Regions from separate parts of the Homo sapiens genome. Here region 2 is linked to region 1. The links are contacts of gene promoters, found by promoter capture Hi-C in human tissues and cell types (Jung and others, 2019). All regions are on one chromosome and are shown on one strand. The core of a region is centred on a gene start or on the middle of the fragment in contact, and the rest is flanking DNA. Distances in the headings are between cores, read along the strand shown.

Region 1 (5,699 bases), core at 423-2,922:
GAGGCCAGCTCTGGGAATTCAACCGGGCTCACACCTACAGTCCCTGGGAACAATCTGCAGCCCCAGTTTCTCCTCTGTAAGGCGAGTTGACCACGGCGCCACAGCACAAGGCTGCACTAGGATTCAATTAACCCAGTGCTCACAACCTGTTTGGTCCAGAGAAAGTCGTTTTTATTGCTAGGAAGGAAAGAGCCTCTTCTCGAAGGCAGAATTCCTCCAGTTTATATCAATCACCTACGAAGTGAGCTTATTCAATTTACTGACTCAAACTCAATTCATATTACTAAGTGCTTAACTAACTAATTCTCAAACTACAAACCGTAAAAGCACTACTGGGGGCGGGTGGGGGAGGCAGGGCAGGGGTGAGCCTCCCCAAAAGGAGCTAAGCAAAATTAGAGCTTTTCTTAACCACCTGGTTAAAACGAAAATATTGATCTTGGCAGACATGTTAAGTGCACGTTTCGTTCCCCGCCCCTTCTCCCAAAAGTGCCTCCAAATAAAAAACTAGTTTCTTCAGAGAACCAAGCATCTAATCATCACTCAGAGGTCTGAACATCCAGCATCCTAAGAACAAAGTGTCCACAGGTTCCCACCAGAACAAACCAGTTCAATGCATTGCTCGGAGGAAAAAGCAAGTTAACTCAAGCACACAATTACCTGTAGTTGCATATTATACGTAAGTGTACTCTTTCCTGCTCACGCCTGGCTACCTGCCTACTCTAACACAACAACTTCCGTTTTTAAAGTGTCAACTTGTTTACTTGGAGGAGCCGCCGCCTGCCGGACACAGCACGTTTGGGAGCCTCTCTTTCCACTGTAGGCTCGTAACTGCAGACTACTCCCGAACAACAAGACCACGGCGGCTGCTCCATCATTTTGCCAGCTTCTATGTTTCCATATTTTAACAATGTTGGGAAAACTAAATCACATGTTAAGACCAAGCAATTGATCAGTTCGTTGCAGAGGCTGCTTGAGGAACTTTCTGCAGCCTGGACCTGAGGCTTCTCAATCTAATAAACCTCAGACAGGACAACCAGACGGGGGTGTCCCCATAGGAAAGAGAACCCGACTCTGGTGGAGTGTCCCACCTCTTAGGGGCTGTGACTCCGCGCCTTATGAAAAGGCACTTTCAACGGGCAGGCTGGAGAAGAGTCCTCTCTAACAGGAAAAATAACTCCAAGTCCGCAGTGTTTAGGAAAAAGAACCAAGTGCTTGGGGAAGGCTGGCTGCCCGCGGAGAGGCGCTGCGTCCGGAGCGCTGGCCCAGGGGAGGCGGCGCGGGCCCTACCTGCGTTCCTGAGCTTCTTGTTCCGATACACCGACAGGATGACCAGGAGGTTGCCCAGGATGTCCACCACGATGGTGAAGATGAGGACGCAGGCCAGGGCGGACGCCAGCCACGAGGGCCGCGCGCCGTCCCCGCGGAGCACGGGCTGGGAGGCGTTGGGCAGCGCGCTGCCGTTGCCCTGCATGGTCCCTGTGCGCGTCCCGGCCGCGGGGCCATCGCCCGCCTCGTCCGCCCGCCCGACCACTTGTTAAGGCTCCGCCCGGCGCTCCCCGCGCCCACGCCCCATCCCGCGCGCTCCTCCACGCCGCGCCCCCGGACGCCCACGCCGCGCCGGACGCCACGGCCAGGTGACACCTGGTGTCCGCCGCGAGCCCGCTTGGATTCCCCGCCCGCAGCTCGAACCCCGCACCACGGGCCGACAGCGCCCCGGTGCGGGAAGCCGGGCCCAGCCGCCGCGCCCTGGGGACGGTGTCCCAGAGGCCTCTCCTCGTGGGCGCACGGCGAGGCCGTTCATTGTGTTTCCTCTCTGGGATGGGACTTTTCACCCAGCAGGGCCAGGCTGCCTGGGATCAAATGCGAAATGGGATTGGGGCGAGTTCACCAGCTGTGTGCCCCACCGCCCTTATCTTCCTTATCTGCAAAATGGGAATAAGATACTATCTCACCTGTTAGCCTCATAATTAGTAAAATGTGAAAAAACCAAGGACTGTCTTCCGTTGTGTATTGCACCGCTTAAGATGGTGCTAGATGTTTCCGATAATGAAATGACATTTTCAAAGAAAAAAGTAAAACTCAATATTTGCAGATGATAAAAATGTATGTACTTCTGTAAGTACCAGTAAAAATGAGAAAGAAAGCACACTTAGGTGGATCGGATACATGGCAGCAATGTAAAAGTGCTAGGAAATGGCCTAACCAGTTGTGTGCAGTGAGGAAAAAACTTTATGAAAACCATGAAAGGAAATTTAAATAAACGGAGAGACAAACAGTGTTCCTAGCTTCGAAGCCTGAAATTTTCATTTTCCTCATATACTTTATGCCAGACCAAGAAAAATATCAAATAACCTAAAGTTTCTTTGAAAGAGTAAAAAGAAAGTGTAGGAAAAGGATTTGAATAAGATGAATAGGAGAGAAGTATGACCTACCAGTATCAAAATGTTCATTAAAAATTACAATTAAGTGGCGCCTGGGATTACAGGCACGGTGGCTCACGCCTGCAATCCCAGCACTTTGGGAGGCCGAGGTGGGCGGATTACCTGAGGTCAGGAGTTCAAGACCAGCCTAGCCAACATGGTGAAACCCCGTCTCTACTAAAAATACAAAAATTAGCCGGGCGTGGTGGCACAGGCCTATAATCCCAGCTATTCGGGAGGCTGAGGCAGGAGAATTGCTTGAGCCCGGGAGGCGGAGATTGCAGTGAGCCGAGATCGTGCCACTGCACTCCAGTCTGGCAGACAGAGCAAGACTCTGTCTCAAAAAAAAAAAAAAAAAAATTACAATAAGTATGCCAGGCACGGCTGCTCACACCTGTAACCCCAGCACTTTGGAAGGCTGAGGCAGGTGGATCACCTGAGGTCAGGAGTTTGAGGCTGGCCTGGCCAACATGGTGAAACCTCGTCTCTACTAAAAACACAAAAATTAGCCAAGTATTGTGGTGGGCGCCTGTAATCTCAGGAGCCTGAGGCAGGAGAATCGCTTGAACCCGGGAGGCAGAGATTGTAGTGAGCTGAGATCACGCCACTGCGCTCCAGCCTGGGCCAAAAAGAATGAGACTCCGTTTCAAAAAAAAAAAAAAAACTAAAACAGTATTGAGCTCATAAACAATTTGAAAAAGCATATAAAATAAAGATTTTATAAAGTGAACAGTTCAAATCAGTAGGGCTGGGATAGATCACGAAAACAAAAATGCATTTAAAGAAAATGTAGGTAAATATACATATCACTTGAGGTAGAGAAGCACTCTGTAAGCCTGGAAAAAAGACAGACAGGAAATAATCCTAACCATAGAAAAGGTAGCAGCTGCCATGGACAGCGTGTGTCACTTCCCATCTCTGGCATCGGTATCTTACAACCATTGTTTGCACAATGTGTTAACAATTCCAGAAGGTCTGGCACTGCTGCGACCATTTTATGGACGAGAAACCTCTGGTGCTGAGAGGTTAAGCAATGTACCAAAGTCACACAGCTGGTAACAAGTAGAGGCAGGATTGGAACTCAGGTCTCTCTGACTGCCAAGCAAGGAGCCTCATTACTAAGTGATAGTGTTTCTCGGTCGTGATAGATTTGACTACGGAAAAGTTAAAAGTCCTATATTCAAAAAATACCACACACAAGTGAAAGCTAGAGAAACTGGGGAAATGATTTGTGACATAGCTAAGAGACGAAGCATTAATGGTCTTCATTATTGTTATGGTTTCAGCATGTCCCCAGAATTTGTGTGTGGAAAATTTGGTCCCCAGGGGAAGGCGGGGCCTTCAAGAGGCGATCAGGTCAAGAGGGTTATACCACTCTGTCTGACTGGGTTAATTCTGCAGGCATGAGTCAGTTCTTGCTCTCCTGGGACTGGATTAGTTACAGTGAGAGTGGGTTTTAAAAAATTACCACTCCAGCCTGGGAGACAGAGAGAGACTCTGCTTCAGAAAAAAAAAAAAAAAATTATCCAGTCCCAGGTATTGCTGTATTCTGTAATAGTGATGGAAAACAGACTAAGACAATTATATAAAGAGCTAAGGAAAAAAAATAGAAATATATTTAAAGGTCATAATTAGACAAAAACTAAAAATGTATGTGTAACCTCTTTTAGCAAAAAAGTTAAAAAAAAGAGAAAGCTTCCATTCCAGCGATCACTTTAGAAAACATTATATTGGTAGTGCCAAGTGTGGTTTGAAACACGTGGAGAAAAAGCATTCCTGTGCACCAGATATGGACGTCTTCAAACTGCATACATGGTGCTAGTCGTTTTACTAATAGAAAACAATTGAACAGTGTCCACATGTGTCAGGACACACCGTTATTTCTCCCTGCATTGTTTGTCACAGGTAAAACTCCTATACTTGGGGTTTTGATACACAAATTTGTGAAATCAACAGATGAAATACAAAGGCATAGATGGCTAACTCTCCCCCAAAAGGGGTGGCATACATAATGCTGGGGTGCACATAACAACATTCATGATCTTTCTTCCCTGGGGAATGAGAAAGGTGAAGCTGGGAAACCACGAGCACTGAAAATGATGGTGAAATCCTGGAAAACAAAGACCCAGAGAGGGAATGCCCAGACTCTGACTGCCAGCATCCCTGAACCCAGCACGTGAGGAATAGACCCAAAGGAAGCAACTGGAGCAAAAGGCCTGAACTGAGGCTGGAGCTGCCACACAAGAAAACAGTTCCAGTTCCAGCCTAGCCAAGAACACTGCCTACTGAGACAAAGAAAACTCAACAGAGAAAAATAATAGCATCTAGAATACCCACAGTGTAAGATTCGTATGTCCATGGTACATTCAAAATTATTTAACGTATGAAAACATTGTCTGTCTATCTATCTATCTATCTATCTATCTATCTATCTATCTATCTATCTACCTATCTATCTATCATCTATCTAAACACATTCTTTAAGATACAATAAGATCAATCAAATCCAGTCCCTAAATGAGCAAAATGTTGTAACTAACAATCTCAGCAAAGAAATAGGAACTCCCATGAAAGAAATAAAAACAGTAAAAAAGAACGAAGGGGAAATTCTAGAACTGAAAAATACAATTTCTGAAATTAATTCTTTACTCAATGGACTTACTAGCCAAATGGACATGACAGAGTAAGTATACTTAAAGATAAACCAACAGAAATTGTCCAACACAGAGAAAAGATATATTTTAAAATGAACAAAGCTTACAATTCTTATAGATTATATTAATTAGAATACTAGCTGTAGAAATAAAATGGTGCAGAAAAAATATTAGAAGACATCATGATTGAAATTTTCCTGAATTTTAGGAAAGACGTAAATTTGTACATGCAAAATGAATACTAAGCAGAATAAACAAAAACAAGCATACTAAGGCACAGCATAGTCAAACTGCTAAAAGCCAAAGATAAAAAGCAATTAAAGTCAAGTTACATATTACGTACTGGTTAGCAATTAATCCAACTAACAGCTGATTTCTCATCAGAAACTGTGCTAATTTTCTATTACTGTCATAACAAATTACCTTAATTAAATTAATTTGGAGACTTAAAACAACATCCATGTATTATGTCACAGTTAAACAGACCAGAAGTCCAGGTACAAAGTGGCTCAGCTGAGCCCTCTGCTTAGGGTCTTATGAGGATAAAACCACAAAGAAGTAGAGCTGTTTCTTTCTGGAGGTTCTCAGGGTAAATCCACTTCTGAGCTCATTCAAGTTGCTGGCA
Region 2 (5,426 bases), core at 241-2,740, 240 kb before region 1:
ATTATTGATGAATGGTGAAATTATATGGACTATTTTAAAAAAATACCACATGATATTTTATTTAATAACAATACATTGTTCTAATAATCACTAAAGTAAAACAACAATGAATGCAAATTAAAAGAAGCAATATGAATGGTACTAAGTTCATACCTAAGCATACTTTAAAGAAAAAGTTATTTTATTTTTTAAAATAAGCTTTATTATTTCATTGAGAAATGCCTCTCATTTGCAAAAGTGTACTCTGAACTTCTGATTTGCAGTCCAGCACATAAAGAGCTTGACATCATCCCTCACATCCTAACAACAGGAACAAAGCTGAATGAACTGGACACCAGCAACTTTTCTTGGATCCGTCAGAGAATTGAGGTCACTGGACATGCCACCGCCTTAAAATTGGAGAGGCAGACAGACAAACCCAGAGAATTATAGCTTAATTCAAACACAGCCCAGGAGCAGCAATCGCCACTGGAGCCAGTACTGGGGTAGGAAAACTTAGACTGCAATTGACAAATTTCTGAAGGCTCTTGTAGATAAGCTTGAGCATTAAAAATGCCAGAAGGGGGCCTGGTCTGGGGTGGGGGCACACTTTTGTGAGTTTTACCTCCAGAAGCCCTGCGGTTCTCATGGTGAGAAAAGAGAAAAATCCCCTCTTGCTTCCCAAAGGGAGCCGTTTTGAGATATGCCCAGAGCATTTTGTGCTCCTTAACAAGACCCATCTTCTAAATTTACAAGGAAAGGCAAAAGATCCAGATGACTAGACACAATATTAAAGGAAAAGAACCAAGTTGAAGAGTTGACATTACCTAACTTCAAGACTTATCGTAAAGCTATAGTAATCAAGACAATGTGGTATTGGTGAAAGAATAGAAAAATCGACCAGCGGAACAGAGTAGACAGCCCACACCCGCACAGATCCCATCAAGCAATCTTTGAAATAGACAAATCGAGCAGCGGAACGGAGTAGACAGCCCACACCCGCACAGATCCCATCAAGCAATCTTTGAAAAGGGCGCAAAGACGTTTCAGTGGAGAATGGATAGTCTTTTCAGGAAATGGCTCTGGAATATCTGCATGCGTAAGAAATGAATTAGACAGAGTTTACATATTTCTTACATATTTCACAAATAATTAACTGAAGATGAATCAAAAGTCTAAATGTAAAATGTAAAACTATGAAACTCCTAGAAGATAATAGGAGAAAATCCAGGTGGCCTCGGGTATGACGATGACTGTTCAGATACAACACCAAAAGTATGGTCCATGAAAGAAAAAAATTATGTCAGACTTCATTAAAATCAAAAACTTCTGCTCTGCAAAAAACTCTGTTAAGAGAATGAACAGACATGCCACAGACATGCAAAAACACACACTTGATAAAGGATTTGAATCCAAAATACACTAAGAACTCTATTTTTTTTTTTTTTTTGAGACAGAGTCTCCCTCTGTCGCCCAGGCTGGAGTGCGGTGGTGCGATCTCAGCTCACTACAACCTCCACCTCCCCAGTTCAAGTGATTCTCCTGCCTCAGCCTCCTGAGTAGCTGGGACTACAGGCATGTGCCACCATGCTGGGCTAATTTTTTTGTATTTTTAGTAGAGACGGGATTTCACTGTGTTAGCCAGGATGGTCTCGATCCCCTGACCTCGTGATCCTCCCGCCTTGGCCTCCCAAAGTGCTGGGATTACAAACAAAGAACTTTTAAAACTCAACAATAAGAAAACAAACAACCCAATTACAAAATGAGCCAAAGATCTGAACAGATACCTCATCCAAGATATACAGGTAGCAAATAAGCATATGGAAAGATGCTCAACATCATGTTATTAGAGAAATGCAAACTAAAGCAACAATAAGACACCACTACATACCTATTAGAATGGCTAAAATCCAAAATGCTGACACCACCAAATGCTAGAGAGGATGTGAAGCAACAGGAGCTCTCATTCATTGTTTTGTCCTTACAAAACTAAATAAACTCTTACTATATAACATGGAAAATGCATGTCTTGGTATTTATCCGAAAGGGCTGAAAAACTATGCACACATAAAAGCCTGAATGTAGATTGTATATGCTTTACTCATAATTGCCAAAACTAGAAAGCACCTAAGATGTTATCCAATAGGAGAATAAATAAACAAACTGTAGGACAAGGTTGTAATGGAATATTATTTAGCAATAAAAAGAAACAAGCTATCAAGCCATTAAAAGACATGGGGGAATCTTAAAGGCATATTGCTAAGAGAAAGAAGCCAATCTAAGCCCGGCACTCACACCTGTAATCCCAGCACTTTCGGAGGCAGAGGTGGGCGGATCACAAGGTCAGGAGATAGAGACCATCCTGGCTAACATGGTGAAACCCCGTCTCTACTAAAAATACAAAAATTAGCTGGGCATGGTGGCATGCACCTGTAATCCCAGGTACCCAGGAGGCTGAGGCAGGGGAAACACTTGAACCTGGGAGGCAGAGATTGCAGTGAGTCGAGATCGCACCATTGCACTCCAGCCTGGGTGACAGAGTGAGACTCTGTCTCAAAAAAAAAAAAAAAAAAAAAAAAGAAAAAGAAAAAAAAAGAGAAAGAAGCCAATCTGAAAAGGCTGCATGCTGCGTCAATCCAACTATGACATTCTGGAAAAACCAAAAGTATGGAAATAGTAAAAAAAAAATCAGTGGCCAGGCGCGGTGGCTCATGCCTGTAATCCCAGCACTTTGGGAGGCTGAGGCAGGCAGATCACCTGAGGTCGGGAGTTCGAGACTAGCCTGACCAACACGGAGAAACCCTGTCTCTACTAAAAATACAAAAAAATCAGCTGGATGTGGTGATGCATGCCTGTAATCACAGCTACTCGGGAGGCTGAGGCAGGAGAATCGCTTGAACTCAGGAGGCAGAGGTTGTGGTGAGCTGAGATCGTGCTATTGCACTCCAGCCTGGGCAACAAGAGTGAAACTCCGTCTAAAAAAAAAAAAATCAGTGATTGTCTAGGATTTGTGAGGTGGAAGGAAAGGATGGATGGGTGGAACACGAGGTTTTTAGGGCTGTGAAATTATTCAGCATGATGCTATAATGACGGTTGTATGTCATTATACATTTGTCAAAACCCATAACATCTACATGTAACCAAGAGTTAGCCCTAATGTAAACTACAGATTTTAGCTAAGAATCATGTAACAATATGTTCATCAGTTTTAACAAATGTCCTCCGCTAATGCAAGATGTTAGGAGAACCTGGAAGGGTAGGAGAAGAATACATAAGAACCCTCTGTATTTTATGCTTAATTTTTCTGCAAATCTAAAACTGCTCTATAAAATAAAGTCTACTAATTTTTAAAAGTGTACACCGATTTGGAAATAAGTCCTACTACACAAAACGTGATGGGTAAGCCTGAACTCCGGGTCCAGACTGCTTGAGTGAGCTGGGACAAATGACGTGTGGAAAATAGCAGGAACAGTGCCTGGCCATAGGGCTGGTTTGAAAGGGCAGATGAAAATCTATGGGGAGCAGATGGCCAAGTGCCTCCAGATGGTTATAACATTAGATAGAGTTCTCATAAGATAATTTCTACTAGTAAGAACCACTCACAATGGGACTCGGCTCTCTTCTGAAATAGTTTCATGTCGCTCAAGTATCCAAGCACAGACTGATGGATGAATTCAGTATTCAGTATTGGTTTTGAAAAGAAACACGGCATTATAAGGATGATCAAATAGTACGTTCTGTAATGTGCTGGAATTTTGGGATCGTCTGAAAGAAGGTGACATGTAAAACCACTTAGGAGATTGTAAAAGCCAAACATTCAAGACGTTGTTTGTGAGGATCGTCTTTTTTTTTTACTGCACATTTCAGCTCATTGTCAAACAAATTTCTACAGAGCCTTGGAATTATATAGTATCAGCATTGGAGAAAACATCAGTGCTCATAAAATCAGCCGCACTTTACAGATGTGGAGTAAGAGGTGCTCAAAGATTGAGTTTCCCTGGTCACAAAGCTAATCAGTGATAAAGTTGAGTTCAAGCTGTGGCTCTAAACCTCACTTCAGGACTCATTTTATTATATATGCTGCCACTGTTATTATTAGTCACAGTAACGGTTTCAAAATCCTAAAGACCCCACATTTGCATTGAAACCAAGATAATTTGGTTTTTCTTTCCGGAGTCCCTCCTCAATGCTCCACGGTCATCAGTCAGCGCCTTTTTGGGAGAAAATGTTTCCAGCTGCCACTCTTTGTAGAAGTTGCTCCCATTTGCTGTTCTATGTCTACAACGCTGCATATCAAAATTTTACAACACGTGGGCGATGACATTTACTTACTAACATAATAGCACCTTCACACTAAACAATTTTCAAATCACTATTATATTACCTCTTTGTAATAGGCTTATAAAGTTGACAGGACAGAATTTTATTTTAATCTTCATGTTATAGATGGCAAACTGGGGTTCAGAGAAGTTGCATGACTCACCTACATTCACAGAGCCAATCCGTGTGTGAAGTGGGTTTTGACACAAGTCTCCTGGCTTCTTTATCTGGTGCGGCCTCATTTGCTGTTGCTATTTGGAAATAAGGTGTTACAGAAGCTACTTAATATGCTTGATTCAAAGTCATTTGTTTGGCTAAAGAAATAATGTCTTAATAATAATTCTTTAAAAGTATTTTATAATATTTGATATAGGCAAAAGAACATAAGTAAGCTATATGTTACCTATTATGAAGCACAATAATAAAATAAACACCTGTGAACTCATCCTCTCAAAATACCTTGAAGCTACCTGTGTGTCTTCTTCATATTATTACTTTGTCTTTCCCCCAGAGGTAATGCTTATCATTATCTCTTTTAAAAATGTTTATTTTTTAAAAGCTAGCCCAACATTATCTGTATCTCTAACATTATGTTGTTTAGCTTTGTTTGTTTTTAAGTTACACTAAATATTTTTCCAGGCTGTATGCTGTCTTCAGCAAATTGCTCTTTTCATTCAATATTTGATTTTTAAGATATTTTATTTTCTGTAACAGTTTATCCATGTTCTGCTAAATCATATTCCATCATGTGAAATAGCACAAAATATTTATGCATTTGTTTTGCATCAGTGGACATTTGGGTTGTTGAGAACTTTTTTCTGTTGTGAACAACGATAAATGGAATTTTCATGTTTGTCTCCTGTGCACCCATGTAAGTATTTACAACTGGGTATGAAATTGGTGGGTTAAGGACGAGACAAGTATTCAAACTCATGAAATGCTGCCATACTGGTTTCCAAAGCTGTTGTGACAATTTGAGTTATCAGATCTTAGTTTTTTCCAGTCTACTGTTGATAAAATAATACGTCATTGAGATCTCAGGACGTATTTCCTGAGAAGCTAATGAGGGTAAATTACTTTTTGTGGTTATTTGTAATTTGGGCTTTCTTCTCTGAAATAATTCTTCA

The links. The method cuts DNA at HindIII sites, captures the fragments that hold promoters and counts their contacts. A contact is called where the count stands out against the background at its distance.
Region 2: a contact is called between a fragment that was not itself captured here and the fragment with the promoter of MTNR1A in region 1, in 1 of the 25 tissues and cell types used here (H1 embryonic stem cells).

What each region holds. Positions count from the first base shown.
Region 1 is chr4:186,553,895-186,559,593 of GRCh38, forward strand. It overlaps MTNR1A (melatonin receptor 1A), which reads right to left and starts at 1,673. Exons shown (of 2, transcript NM_005958.4): 1 at 1,288-1,673. The coding sequence starts at 1,471. The HindIII fragment of the contact is 6,800 bases long and covers 1-4,645 here.
Region 2 is chr4:186,315,213-186,320,638 of GRCh38, forward strand. All of the region lies in intron 1 of F11-AS1 (F11 antisense RNA 1), which reads right to left. Among named protein-coding and RNA genes, the nearest start is that of F11, 52 kb to the left of the region's middle. The HindIII fragment of the contact is 4,467 bases long and covers 1-3,724 here.